2 separate regions of the Homo sapiens genome follow, and region 1 is linked to region 2. The links are contacts of gene promoters, found by promoter capture Hi-C in blood cells and fetal thymus (Javierre and others, 2016). All regions are on one chromosome and are shown on one strand. Each heading gives the region's core, a stretch centred on a gene start or on the middle of the fragment in contact. The rest is flanking DNA. Distances are from core to core; before and after follow the strand shown. Region 1 overlaps BIRC6 (baculoviral IAP repeat containing 6). Region 2 holds the start of BIRC6 (baculoviral IAP repeat containing 6).

The links. The method cuts DNA at HindIII sites, captures the fragments that hold promoters and counts their contacts. A CHiCAGO score of 5 or more calls a contact.
Region 1: a fragment that was not itself captured here is called in contact with the fragment with the promoter of BIRC6 in region 2 in 1 of 17 cell types (M2 macrophages); the score reaches 6.9 in M2 macrophages.

Annotation. Positions count from the first base shown.
Region 1 is chr2:32,399,087-32,404,813 of GRCh38, reverse strand. BIRC6 (baculoviral IAP repeat containing 6) reads right to left here. Exons shown (of 74, transcript NM_016252.4): 7 at 3,429-3,651; 8 at 3,191-3,351. Among named protein-coding and RNA genes, the nearest start is that of BIRC6, 45 kb to the right of the region's middle. The HindIII fragment of the contact is 682 bases long and covers 1,473-2,154 here.
Region 2 is chr2:32,353,189-32,359,330 of GRCh38, reverse strand. It overlaps BIRC6 (baculoviral IAP repeat containing 6), which reads right to left and starts at 2,308. Exons shown (of 74, transcript NM_016252.4): 1 at 1,845-2,308. The coding sequence starts at 2,169. RefSeq lists enhancers at 1,098-1,610, 2,125-2,637 and silencers at 1,862-2,091, 2,252-2,621. The HindIII fragment of the contact is 6,861 bases long and covers 1-2,817 here.

The sequences.
Region 1 (5,727 bases), core at 564-3,063, 46 kb before region 2:
GGTACATGCCTTTAGTCCCAGCTACTTAGAAGGCTGAGGTAGAAGGATGACTTGAGCCCAGGAGGTAAAGGGTGCAGTGAGCCGTGAGCCCGGGTGACAGAGCAAGACCTTGTTTCAAGAGAAAAAAAAAAATTATATATATATATTTGTAAAATCACATTCTTTTAAAATATTTTGTGACAAAAACATTTTATGGCTAAGGCCAGATGCAGTGGCTCACACCTATAATCCCAGCACTTTTGGAGGCTGAAGCAGGCACATCACGTGAGGCCCGGAGTTTGAGACCAGCCTGGCCAACATGGTGAAACCCGTCTCTACTAAAAATACAAAATTTACCCAGGCATGGTGGCACGGGTCAGTCCCAGCTACTCAGGAGACTGAGGCACAAGAATCACTTGAACCTGGGAGGCAGAGATTGCAGTGAACCAGGATCGCACCACTGCACTCCAGCATGGGCGACAGAGCAAGACTCTCTCAAAAAAAAAGAAAAAAAATTATATGAATAAAATAACTAAATTGTACACTTACATGAATTGTATGGTTTGAAAATTACACTTCAATAAAACTTTTTAAAAAATCACATGCGGCTGGGCGTGGTGCTCACGCCTGTAATCCCAGCACTCTGGGAGGCCAAGGCAGGTGGATCATCTGAGGTCCGGAGTTCGAGAACAGCCTGGCCAACATGGAGAAACCCTTTCTCTACTAAAAATACAAAAAATTAGCCAGGAGGGGTCGTGGGCACCTGTAGTCCCAGCTACTCAAGGAGGCTAAGGCAGAAAAATCATTTGAACCTGGGAGGCAGAGGTTGCTGTGAGCCAAGATTGCGCCACTGCACTCTAACCTGGGCGACAGGGTGAGACTCTGTCTCCAAAAAAAAAAAAAAAACACACACACATTTTAAAAAGAAACTAGAATACATATAAATGTTACCATAATCCCATAGTGTGATTATGACTACTCTATATTTCATCAATTTCCACTCCTGCATTTTCCCATTTTCCTGCAATAAGCATGCACTATTTATATAATAGGCACTGTATTTACTAAAGCCTTCTACATTTTGCAAAACCTTTTACAAAGCAATAAACATGCAAAATAAATATTATGGTTAAAGTAAAAATGTTTAGTTAAGATTATATGTGTTTCTGAAAAACAGACATACTAATATTGTAACAGTACCTTGGTTTACAGCAATCCCATAAACAATTTCATTTACATTCAAGGAATTTTTACCAACTTGACCTGATATACAAATGACAAGTGAATCATCTAGAAGAAATCTTAATTCATTAAAATTAAATGTATTAGCATATCTTCTTCCTTAATTCAGAAGACAAATATAGTCTTCTAAGAAAAAATTGTCAAAAACAATTCCTTAGTCCTTCAATGTAAATAAGAAATAAAAACAAATTTTACAAAAACTATTCTAAGCAAACTATATTGCTAATTACTTTAAACTTCTTGGATAAGCTTAGATTTTTCCAATTAATGTATTATTCTTCAAGCTAATGAAACCCACATAGTATATTTTATAACCAAACATATTGGATCTTGTGTCACATAAAGTGAGAGGTAGTGTGGCTCATTATATTCACTATCAATTCCAACAGGACTGCTCCTACTTCTTGGGGAGGGGAAGTGAAGAGAGGGGGCTTAAGGTTAGGGATGAAGTTTCACCTCTTCAGCTTCCTCCTACCACATCAACTTAATGTTTTTGTATGATTTGTTTGAGACTTTCTTCAGAGAAAATTGACCTTCGACCCTAGATTGTGAATTTCTTAAAAGCAAGTAGAGATTACCTCAACTCAAGCACATTACCCCATATAATGTTGAGAAGTATTTCCACTAATAATACAGAATACATGTTTATCTAAAATGCAGATTTTACCTAGGAGGGTGTGACTATATGTGTATGGGTGTATGTAATCCTAGAAGTATATTTTGATTCCATTTTTAATCCCCAAATTACAAAACTTCAAGACAAAGTTCAAATTAAAGTAAGTGCCTAGAAGGACATATAAATTTCATTATCTTCTATTACTTTTCCACTAACTTCTAAGAAATCACAGAAATTAAGCATGCTTAATATCTAGTCCTATTGGCAAAATATGGTCAGAAACTCAGACAACAGTTAAGCTGCTTTCCCATTAAGCTTTCACAGAGATTTATATTAATAGAACAACCACAAGGCTTTAATCAACATGTTATTACCAAGAGGAACTAGACAGAAGTAACACATATATTGTAAATTTTCCACTAATTCCATTAATGAAATAATTTCCATTAATAAAACTTTACATTATTCCTTAATGAAAGGACATCCCACCAAAGGGGTTGTGAAGTAAAATGATAAATCACTGACTACAGAGTAACACCCATCACATGTCAGTAACATAAGGAGCCCCTGGAAGTGAAATGGCAGATATTCTCAGTCTATCAAGACATCTGATCACAGTTAAATAGCTCCATTTCACATGGCTGCCTACACAATCTTCTTCCCCTCCACCTACAGAATCTTACTAGCCCAGTTCAGTCAAAACCACAGTGGTTCTTAGGAAACAAGTGGGTGAAAGAGGGTGATACTTTGACTCTCCCACCCCACCACAAAAATCAGGAATCTCTCAGAGAAGTTGAGTGAAGGAGAATCCAGAACAGCAATTTTACCAAAATATTTCTATAGCAATAATTATGGTATCTCAACTCACTGCTGACTACTGGTACACTGTTTTAAACAATTAGATCCTCTTGCCTCACCTCAGGTCATCCCATTATTATTATTCATTAGCACTGCCATAATTTGAGGTGCTAATGAAAAAACGGAAACTGAAATCATCTAGTTCGAATGCTCTATGAAAAGATTTAGCAGAAGGTGAAACTACAATAGAATTTCATTTCATTATTTAGACTTTCCAATGTTGACTTTTCATCATCTATTGTTCAATGTGGCAATTATTTCCAATTGACATAGATTGTGATAGAAAGTTAAGCATATTTTATAAACTACGGTGTTTCTGAATGAAGATTTTTCTTCAAGAATCACAGATTTCAGATTTCTAACCAAACATTTACTCTCTGATCTCTTAACTGCGTAACTTTTTTTTCCTCCTCTTTAATTATTAGAACTATGAGAATATAAAATTTAGGAAAACATGTAACATCTATTAAATACTACTAAAACAAACTCACATACCTATCTCCTTCCAATTTTGGTATATCTGAGCAACTAGAGGAGTCCTCCAGCCACGCCAAAGTTGGTCTCCTTGAATCAACTCCTGAGCTTGGGTCTCCTGATAGAATAAGCTGTTGTACAATTGCTGGATCATAGGCATTAATTTCAAACTTTAAGTGCACCTAAACAAATGAAAAGCCTAAGTTTACAACTGATCTTTTTTCAATTACTAATTTGTTACTTCAAAATTCAAACATACCTTCATAAGTTTGGAAACATCCCATATGCAGATCTTTCCTCGTTTAGTTGCAGCAGCTAGAAAATGAGGGCAGCTCCCCGACCCAAAGCAAGATATTCTGTCAGTTCCATCCGTACAAGGAAACTGTGCAGGACTTGTTGCAAGAGTGACTGACAATGGCACATTCTGTGTGTGCTCACCTTTCACAAATGGGCAGTTTGGGGAATGTCTTTCGTGTTCAGACCTTTGCATAGATTTAGAAAGGAAAAGTTTACTAAAAATAAAGCAATTCAGTTTGTACATTAAAACAGAACTCCAGGATCATCATCTTTTTTTAACTGAACTTAAAGTATTCATCATTAAAGACTTAATATAACCAAATCATTCAGTTTTATGAAGATCACTCTAACATGTTCAACCGTTTACAAATTCACACATTCAATATTCCAAACATTCAACAATAGCAGTTGTTACTCACTTTAACTGATTATAAAGTCAATCTCAGAAAAAACTGAAAAACCAATACAATGCTATATTACATACTACAAAATTGTTTAAACTCCTGTTATTTCCTCACACTGGTTTCCTACAGCTTTGAATGATTAACTACTATGTTTCAATTTAAAATTCTCCATATCTATCAGGGGCCACAACTATAAATGATATACAGCTGAAACTCGATAAATGCCACTCATAACACAAAAAGTTATTTTACTAAATATTTTACTAAATTATTTTACTAAAAAGTTTTTTAGTAAAGATCTGAAGGCAGCCGGGTGCGGTGGCTCATGCCTGTAATCCCAACACTTTGGGAGGCTGAGGCGGGTGGATCATGAGGTCAGGAGTTCGACGCCAGCCTGACCAACACGGTGAAACCCCGTCTCTACTAAAAATACGAAAATTAGCTGGGCATGGTGGTGGGCGCCCGTAATCCCAGCTACTCAGGAGGCTGAGGCAGAAGAATTGCTTGAACCCAGGAGGCGGAGGCTGCAGTGAGCCGAGATCGCGCCACTGCACTCCAGCCTGGGCAACGGAGTGAGACTCCACCTCAAAAAAAAAAAAAAAAAAAAGATCTGAAAGCAGAAAGATCTCTAGTATGAATAAAATAATATATATTAAGAACACAGAAATATACCTTATGTATTCACTATAGGATCAAATCAGACAAATAACTTTTAAATAAAATTTATTTCCTAAGAGCCTTAGGAATGTAAAGTTCATAAATTATACACTACTTCTTTCAAATAAATGCTTACTGAGCGAGAAGAAATGTTAAATTAAAAACATAACAAGTTTAAGAAATATAAAATACAGGCTGGGCACCGTGGCTCACACCTGTAATCCCAGCACTTCGGGGGGCCAAGGTGGTTGGATCCTTGAGGCCAGAAGATTGAGACCAGCCTAGGCAACATAGTGAGACCTCATTGCTACAAAAAATAAAAATAAAAATAATTAGCTGGGTGTGGTAGCATGTGCCTGTATTCCCAGCTACTCGGGAGACTCAGGTAGGAAGATCCCTCGAGCCTGGGTGTTCAAGGCTGCAGTGAGCTACGATCGTGCCACTGCACTCCAGCCTGAGCAACAGAGCAAGACCCTGTCTCTAAAAAATAAAAAATTTAAAAATTTAAATTAAAATATAAAAATAAAATACTAGGACCTCATATCAAGACTGGTATAATGACTTTAAGAATTATCTCAAATATTGTAAGCAGGATCAACTTAGCACCTATCTGCTCAACTTTATGATTCCTTTATATTTCTTTCTGGTTATTCCTTATTTTTATTTCTATTAGCTATAATTATAAGGCATTAGAAATGTCAGGATCCTGCTACCAAAACAAGAACCCATGAGCCAGGCGTGATGGTAAAGCATATAGTCCCAGTTAGTCAGGAGGCTGAGGCAGGAGGACTGCTTAAGCCCAAGAATATGAGGCTGCAGTAAGCTATGATCACACCTGTGTATAGCCATTGCACTTCAGCCTGGACAATATAGCAAGACCCCGTATCTAAAAAATAAAATAGGCTGGGCGTGGTGGCTCACGCCTGTAATCCCACCACTTTGGGAGGCTGAGATGGGTGCATCACTTGAGGTCAGGAGTTCCAGACCAGCCTGGCCAACATGGGGAAACCCCATCTCTACTAAAAATACATATATTAGCTAGGCATTGTGGCGCACACCTGTAGTCCCAGCTACTTGGGAAACTGAGGCACGAGACTCTCTTGAACCTGGGAGGCAAGGGTTGCAGTGAACCAAGATCGCGCCACTGCACTCCAGCCTGGGCAACAAAGTAAGACTGTGTCTCCAAAAAAATAAATAAAT
Region 2 (6,142 bases), core at 1,059-3,558:
AGACATAAAAAGCACACCATAAAATTCCTCTTTCTATCCAAAACACTTGAATACTTTTGTTAATGACTTTCTTTAGAAATCCTAGTACATATACCACTTATTCCAAGTTAAAAATCACAAAAATACTACATCCTCAAGATAGAAACATATACTAGAAAGTGTAGACATATATGAAAAGGATAAAATCAAATTAAAGATAACGTTTATGAAGAGGGAGGATTGGAGAAATGCAGTCCAGGAGAGATTCAGCTGAGATTTTAATCCTATTTGTAAAGTTTTATTTCTTAACCTGAGTTGGGGATGCATGGTGTTCACTGTAATTACTCTTCATACCTTTTCATACTTGAAATACTTTTAAATGACTTTTAAAAAGAAAGACATCCAATTACCAATGAGCATCTCCCTCTTACACACAGTGAGAAGCCATTATGTCCAAGTTGCAGTAACTGTTCACTGCTACATCTGGGCCACCCCATCATTTACCTAAGCCAAGAAAAGAAAAAATTACAAACCTACCTCCCAAAACTTTCTCTTAGATATGTTCCAAGTTTATATCCTGAAACTATACATAATCCAATTCTTTCACAACTCTCACATCAACAATAATTAACATGTCTAATTTCACGTTTGCATCCCTAAATTGCCATTTACTCTTACAAATGCCTTATTACTCACATAGTAAACTTTTCCTTGTTCGTCTACGTTAAAATACAAGTGAATTGGTTGACCACATAACTACTTCCACTTGGCTAAACGCAGACAGTTGTATACATTACATCTCTATGCAGGAGTCCGATTCACTCATACACTAACTTTTCAATCTAAACCTACAACATCCAAATTAAGCCACCCATCATTTAACCACAAATGAAATGTCATCTCCGCCAAATCTAACTCAGCCAGGGCCATTCCAAAACCACTCCAGTCCGTCCACTGAGCATACACCTCACGCATCTGAAAGTCCCGTCCCTGGACCAAGGTTTACGCCACCCAGAAGTGCTCTCCTCCAATGGTGAGACTCAGACACACCTTCAAATCCTAATTTTCGGCTCGCTGTGGGAAAACAAGTAGAGACAGCCTGAAGTTACAAACCCAAAGGAATCTATTTCATACACCACAGGTCCTGACTTTCTCGTCACTGGGGCGTAGAAGTTGGAAGCCCCGAGCAAGGGGACCAGGTCTAGTCGTCTTCGGCGTCCGCAGAGTCCTACAGTCGTCGACCAAGCAGTTCAGGCAGCTGGCCCGCCTACTTCCCTCCCCACCCCCACCACGACCCACCCCACCCCCACCCCACCCCCACCCCCACGCTGGGCGCACAGCCCGCGGTCTGTCCCCCGCACTGCGGGACCTGAGAACAGCAGACTGCCGGCTCCTCTCCCACAAGGGAGGGCTTGGTTGCCGGCTCAGACGCTCCCCGCCCCTCGCCTCCGGCCACCAGCCTCTCCGCCCGGGGTCAACCCTTCCAGCCTTTCGCTCTCATCTAACCGGACGCAGGACCGACAGCCTCTCCAGGGCCTACCCGGGCCTCGCTTCCTCCGGTGCCAAGCTCCAAGGTCTCCTCACCTCTCGCGGAGGACCAAGCCAGACCGGACGCTCCAGGCCCGAAAGGCAACTCCCCTCCCACCACTCCCTGACTCGCCGGTCTTTCCTCCCAACTGCAGCCGCTGAAAAAGCCAAGTCCTAAGGTCCCCCTCCATCAGCTTCCGGGCCTCCCTTCACGGCTGGGCCCGAACCCCCAGCCCTGCCCTCTCGCCATCTCGCTTCCCCGAGTCGCGAGGCCGAGCCCCGGGGCTGGACGGCTTCTTTCCCCGGCTTCGCGCCCGCCCGGCGTGCGGAAGACTCACCACTGAGCGCGGAGGCCTGCAGTGTGGCCCCCGAGGTGCCGTCGATGACTTTGATGGTCCCGCGGCTAGTGACGGCCAGGATGGCGTTGAGCGCAGGGTGGTAGGACAGGCTGTGCAGCCCGTCGGCGTCGCAGTGCATGCAGCCGTCCCGCAGCACCAGCCACTCTGAGACCCCGGCCGCCCCCGCCCCCGCCGCCGAGGAGCAGCCGGGGCCCGAGGCCGCCGCAGCCGCAGCCGCCATCTTCCGGCCTGCGCTCAGCACAATCACACTGGGAAGCGGCTCAGTGACAGTCCCGGGAGGTGCAGCACCACCACCAGTCACCATCCGGGGCCAGGGGGCAAGCCGAGCGCGTTAGCCGGAAGTGAAGTCAGGCGCCCGCACGCACGCGGAACGTCGATCGCCCGGCCGGAGGGGCCAAACTCGGAGGGAGGCTGACGGGAGAGGGGGAGAAGCAGGGAGGGAGGCGGGGCCCGGGGCGCGGGCTGGAGGCCGGCGGGTGGAGCATGCGCGGGAGGGCTCGCGCGTGCCACGCGCCGCGGGTCTGGCCAGTTCCGCGTCCGCAGCGTCCCAGTTTCTTCCTGTGAGCCTGGGGAGTGGCGGCTGCCGAGTCCGCCCCGCTCCTCGCGGGGGCAGGGGGAGGGGTTGGCCTCCGTGCATTTCCGCTAGGTGGGGACCCCCGCCCTTGCGACCTGTCCGGTACGCCCGGAGGCCTTTTGCAGCGGTTCCAGCTGCGCCTTGACCGTTCCCGGTACGCACGGTGCAGCTGTTCGGCCGTGGCCGGAAGCGGACCTCTGGGTCTCGGTCACGGCTCTGGTGTGAGAATAAACAATCAGAAGCCTCTCGTTTGGATTGGAAGGAACCGAGCGACCTTCCCAAACCTGTACCTTTTACCACGCCTGCCCTCCCCATTCCCAAGGCTTTCTGTTGAACAGAAGTACCAGATACGAGGTGCTGGAAGCGCATAGTTAAGCTTAGTTTCTCTATCCACATTCCAAACAACCCGAGTTACCGGAATTAATAGGAGTGTGGGTCTGTGTGAGTGTGTGGTGGGGTGTGTTGGAGGTCTAGAAAGGACTAATCAATTTACTAATCATCCCCCCTTGGAGAATTTTTTTAAAACTTTTTATTTTGAAATAGATTACAGTTGAAAATATACTACAGACCTCTGTGGTCTTTCTCTCCAAAAGCCATAACCCCTATCTAACTATGAGAAAACCATTTGACAAACCCAAACTGTAGGACATTATTTTTATAAAATACCTAAACACTACTCAAAGATAGTACAGAGAGATCCAATTTACTCTTTACCCAGTTTCCCCCAATGGTTGCATATTACATAATTCTAGTACAATCTCAAAAGGAGGGATTTGATAGTTGTATGATGTGTGTATAGTTCAATGTCATTTTATCACATGTAGACCTACGCACCATAGTCAAGATGCAGAGTTGTATGTTCTATATGTTTTGTGATCATTAGGTTATTTTGGAAAGAACTAGTTTTCCTTAAAAACCTAATCAAAGATCTGTTGTGAGGATTAAGAATCATTTGTAAAATGTGTAGAAGAGCATCTGACAAGTATATACTACGTGCTCAATAAAAATTATAAAAGTTAATTGCCCTCTCACATTCATGCGAACTTCCTTCAGGAAATCTTCATGGATTACCTGAACTACATCTTAAACTATTAGCCATCAGGCTACATCTGAAACACTTAGAGATTTGACTGTATTCCTCTCTTCTTGGGGGTCCCTAAAATACACTGAAGTTCCTGGGCCTGCCAGAGAGTGACATTCCTTACTCATCTGTGGTTCTTTTTTTTTTTTTTTTTTGGCTTTTTTGTTTGTTTTTGTTTGTTTATTGAGACGGAGTCTCACTCCGTCGCCCAGGCTGGAGTGCAGTGGCGTGATCTCAGCTCACTACAACTTCTGCCTCTTGGATTCAAGCAATTCTCGGCCTCAGCCTCCTGAATAGCTGGGATTACAGGCACCTGCCACCACGCCTGGCTAATTTTTTTTTTTTTTTTTTTTTGTATTTTTAGTAGAGATGGGGTTTCACCATCTTGGCCAGGTTGGTATTGAACTCCTGATCTCGTGATCCACCTGCCTCGGCCTCCCAAAGTGCTGGGATTACAGGTGTGAGCCCCCGCGCCCGGCCACTCAGGCCACTCACCTGTAAGTCTGGGAACAATCAGGCCAGTTTTTCAAACGAAGACTTTATTGGCTCCATAAAGTCAACCATAGCTCCTTAATGCCATCTGGTCATGTTTGAAAATATGACATTCCAGTCAAAACCTGGTTAATACAACCAGTGCCTCCAATTATGTCTTGTTACAGGAGAACACATTTTTATAGAAATTATGCAAATAACTATATTGCCATAAAAATAGGAATACTTGGCCGGGTGCGGTGACTCATACCTGTAATCCTAGCACTTTGACTAGCCTGGCCAACATAGTGAAAGCCCATCTCTACTAAAAATAGAAAAAAATGAGCCGGGCCTGGTGGCGGGCACCTGTAGTCCCAGCTACTAGGGAGGCAGAGGCAGGAGAATCACTTGAACCCTGAAGGCGGAGGTTGCAGTGAGCAGAGATCGTGCCACTGCACTCCAGCCTGGGCGACAGAGCGACAATCTGCCTCAGAAAAAAAAAAAAAAAAGAAAATGGGACAAGTTGAGTTTACCTACTTAGTAAGGGCTAAAGCTTTTTACCAATATTTGTGGAAAATTCTTTTTACTTTTTTTTTTATTTGCCCTGTTTCAAAACAGTCTCATTTTTTTCTCTCTTTTCAGCCTCAAGTGATTGATTTGGAGGGTCCTCTCAGTCCCTTCAGAGCCCCCAGTGGAGGGTAGGGAGCCTAAAGTGCAAGTGACTGTGGGGCTGGAGTGAGAAGGGAAAGGATCTGGCAGTGGTGGACAAAGTTGGCAAAGGTTATAATCAGTAGGGATTTCTGGTTTCAGAGAAGAAGGGTTTCAGGTGACAGAATTTCCCATGGGAGAAGCAAGATCCAATAGAGAGAATACAGAGGCTTCACAGAGAGCCAGAAAGAACATCCAGCCCAGAAGGTACCTTTCAAAAGAAGCCTGGGACTGTAACACAGTTTCAGAGAATATACTTTTCTTTCCTTTTTTTTTTGAGACGAAGTCCCGCTCAGTCGCCCAGGCTGGAGTGCAGTGGCGCGATCGCGGATCACTGCAGGCTCCGCCTCCCGGGTTCACGCTATTCTCCTGCCTCAGCCTCCCGAGTAGCTGGGATTATAGGCACCAGCCACTACGCCCGGCTAATTTTTTGTATTTTTAGTAGAAATGGGGTTTCACTGTGTTAGCCAGGATGGTCTCGATCTCCTGATCTCGTGATCCACCCGCCTCGGCCTCCCAAAGTGCTGGGATTACAGGCGTGAGCCACCGCGCCCGGCGTTTTTTTTCCTTATTTTAAGAGACAGCGTCTTACCGTGTCACCTAGGCCAGAGTCAGTGGCATGATCATAGCTCACTGCAGCCTCAAACTCCTGGGCTCAAGCGATCCTCCTGCCTCAGCCTCCTAAGTAGCTGGAATTACAGGTGCAAGCCACCAAACCCAGCCAGAGTATACTGATACCTTAAGAATCCACATCTGTTCTTACCAGCTTTGGCAGACATTTGTCTTGAGCAATGGTTCAGGAATCTGATTCACCAAGGAACAATGTAGGGGGTCAGTAGATAGAAAATTACTAAGAGGAAACCTCAGGGGTAAGTGAAACTCTGGCCAAATCAATCTAACAGGATTCTTGCTGAAGACAGGCCACAGTGATCAGACATCACCTGGGAGATGGTGGAGGATGAGGAGCCTGATCAGATATGGAGGAAGAGGGGTTCTTGCTAAACTGACTTAGCTCAGTTTTCTGCTAAAACTAGACTTTACAAGGAAGTGCACGGATGGACCTAGCAGAAGATTCAGAAGTCTGACTAAAGTTTGGCCAAAGAATCTTTGTCATAGTAAAGTCTGGATGAATATCTGATTTTCATAACTGTAGCATCATTGATCACCTCTATGAACTTGGGCTAGTCATACATTTTGAGACTGTTTCACCAAGTGTCAAACGGAGATGATAAAATTTCTTGCCCTAGTCATTTAGGTTTGTTCTAAGTACTTCTGAAAGTACTTGTAAATGGTAAAAATTGAAAAACAGGGCCAGACACGGTGGCTCACGCCTGTAATCACAGCACTTTGGGAGGTTGAGGCGGGCGGATTACTTAAGGTCAGATGTTTGAGACCAGCCTGGTCAAAATGGTGAAACTCTGTCTCTACTGAAAATACAAAATA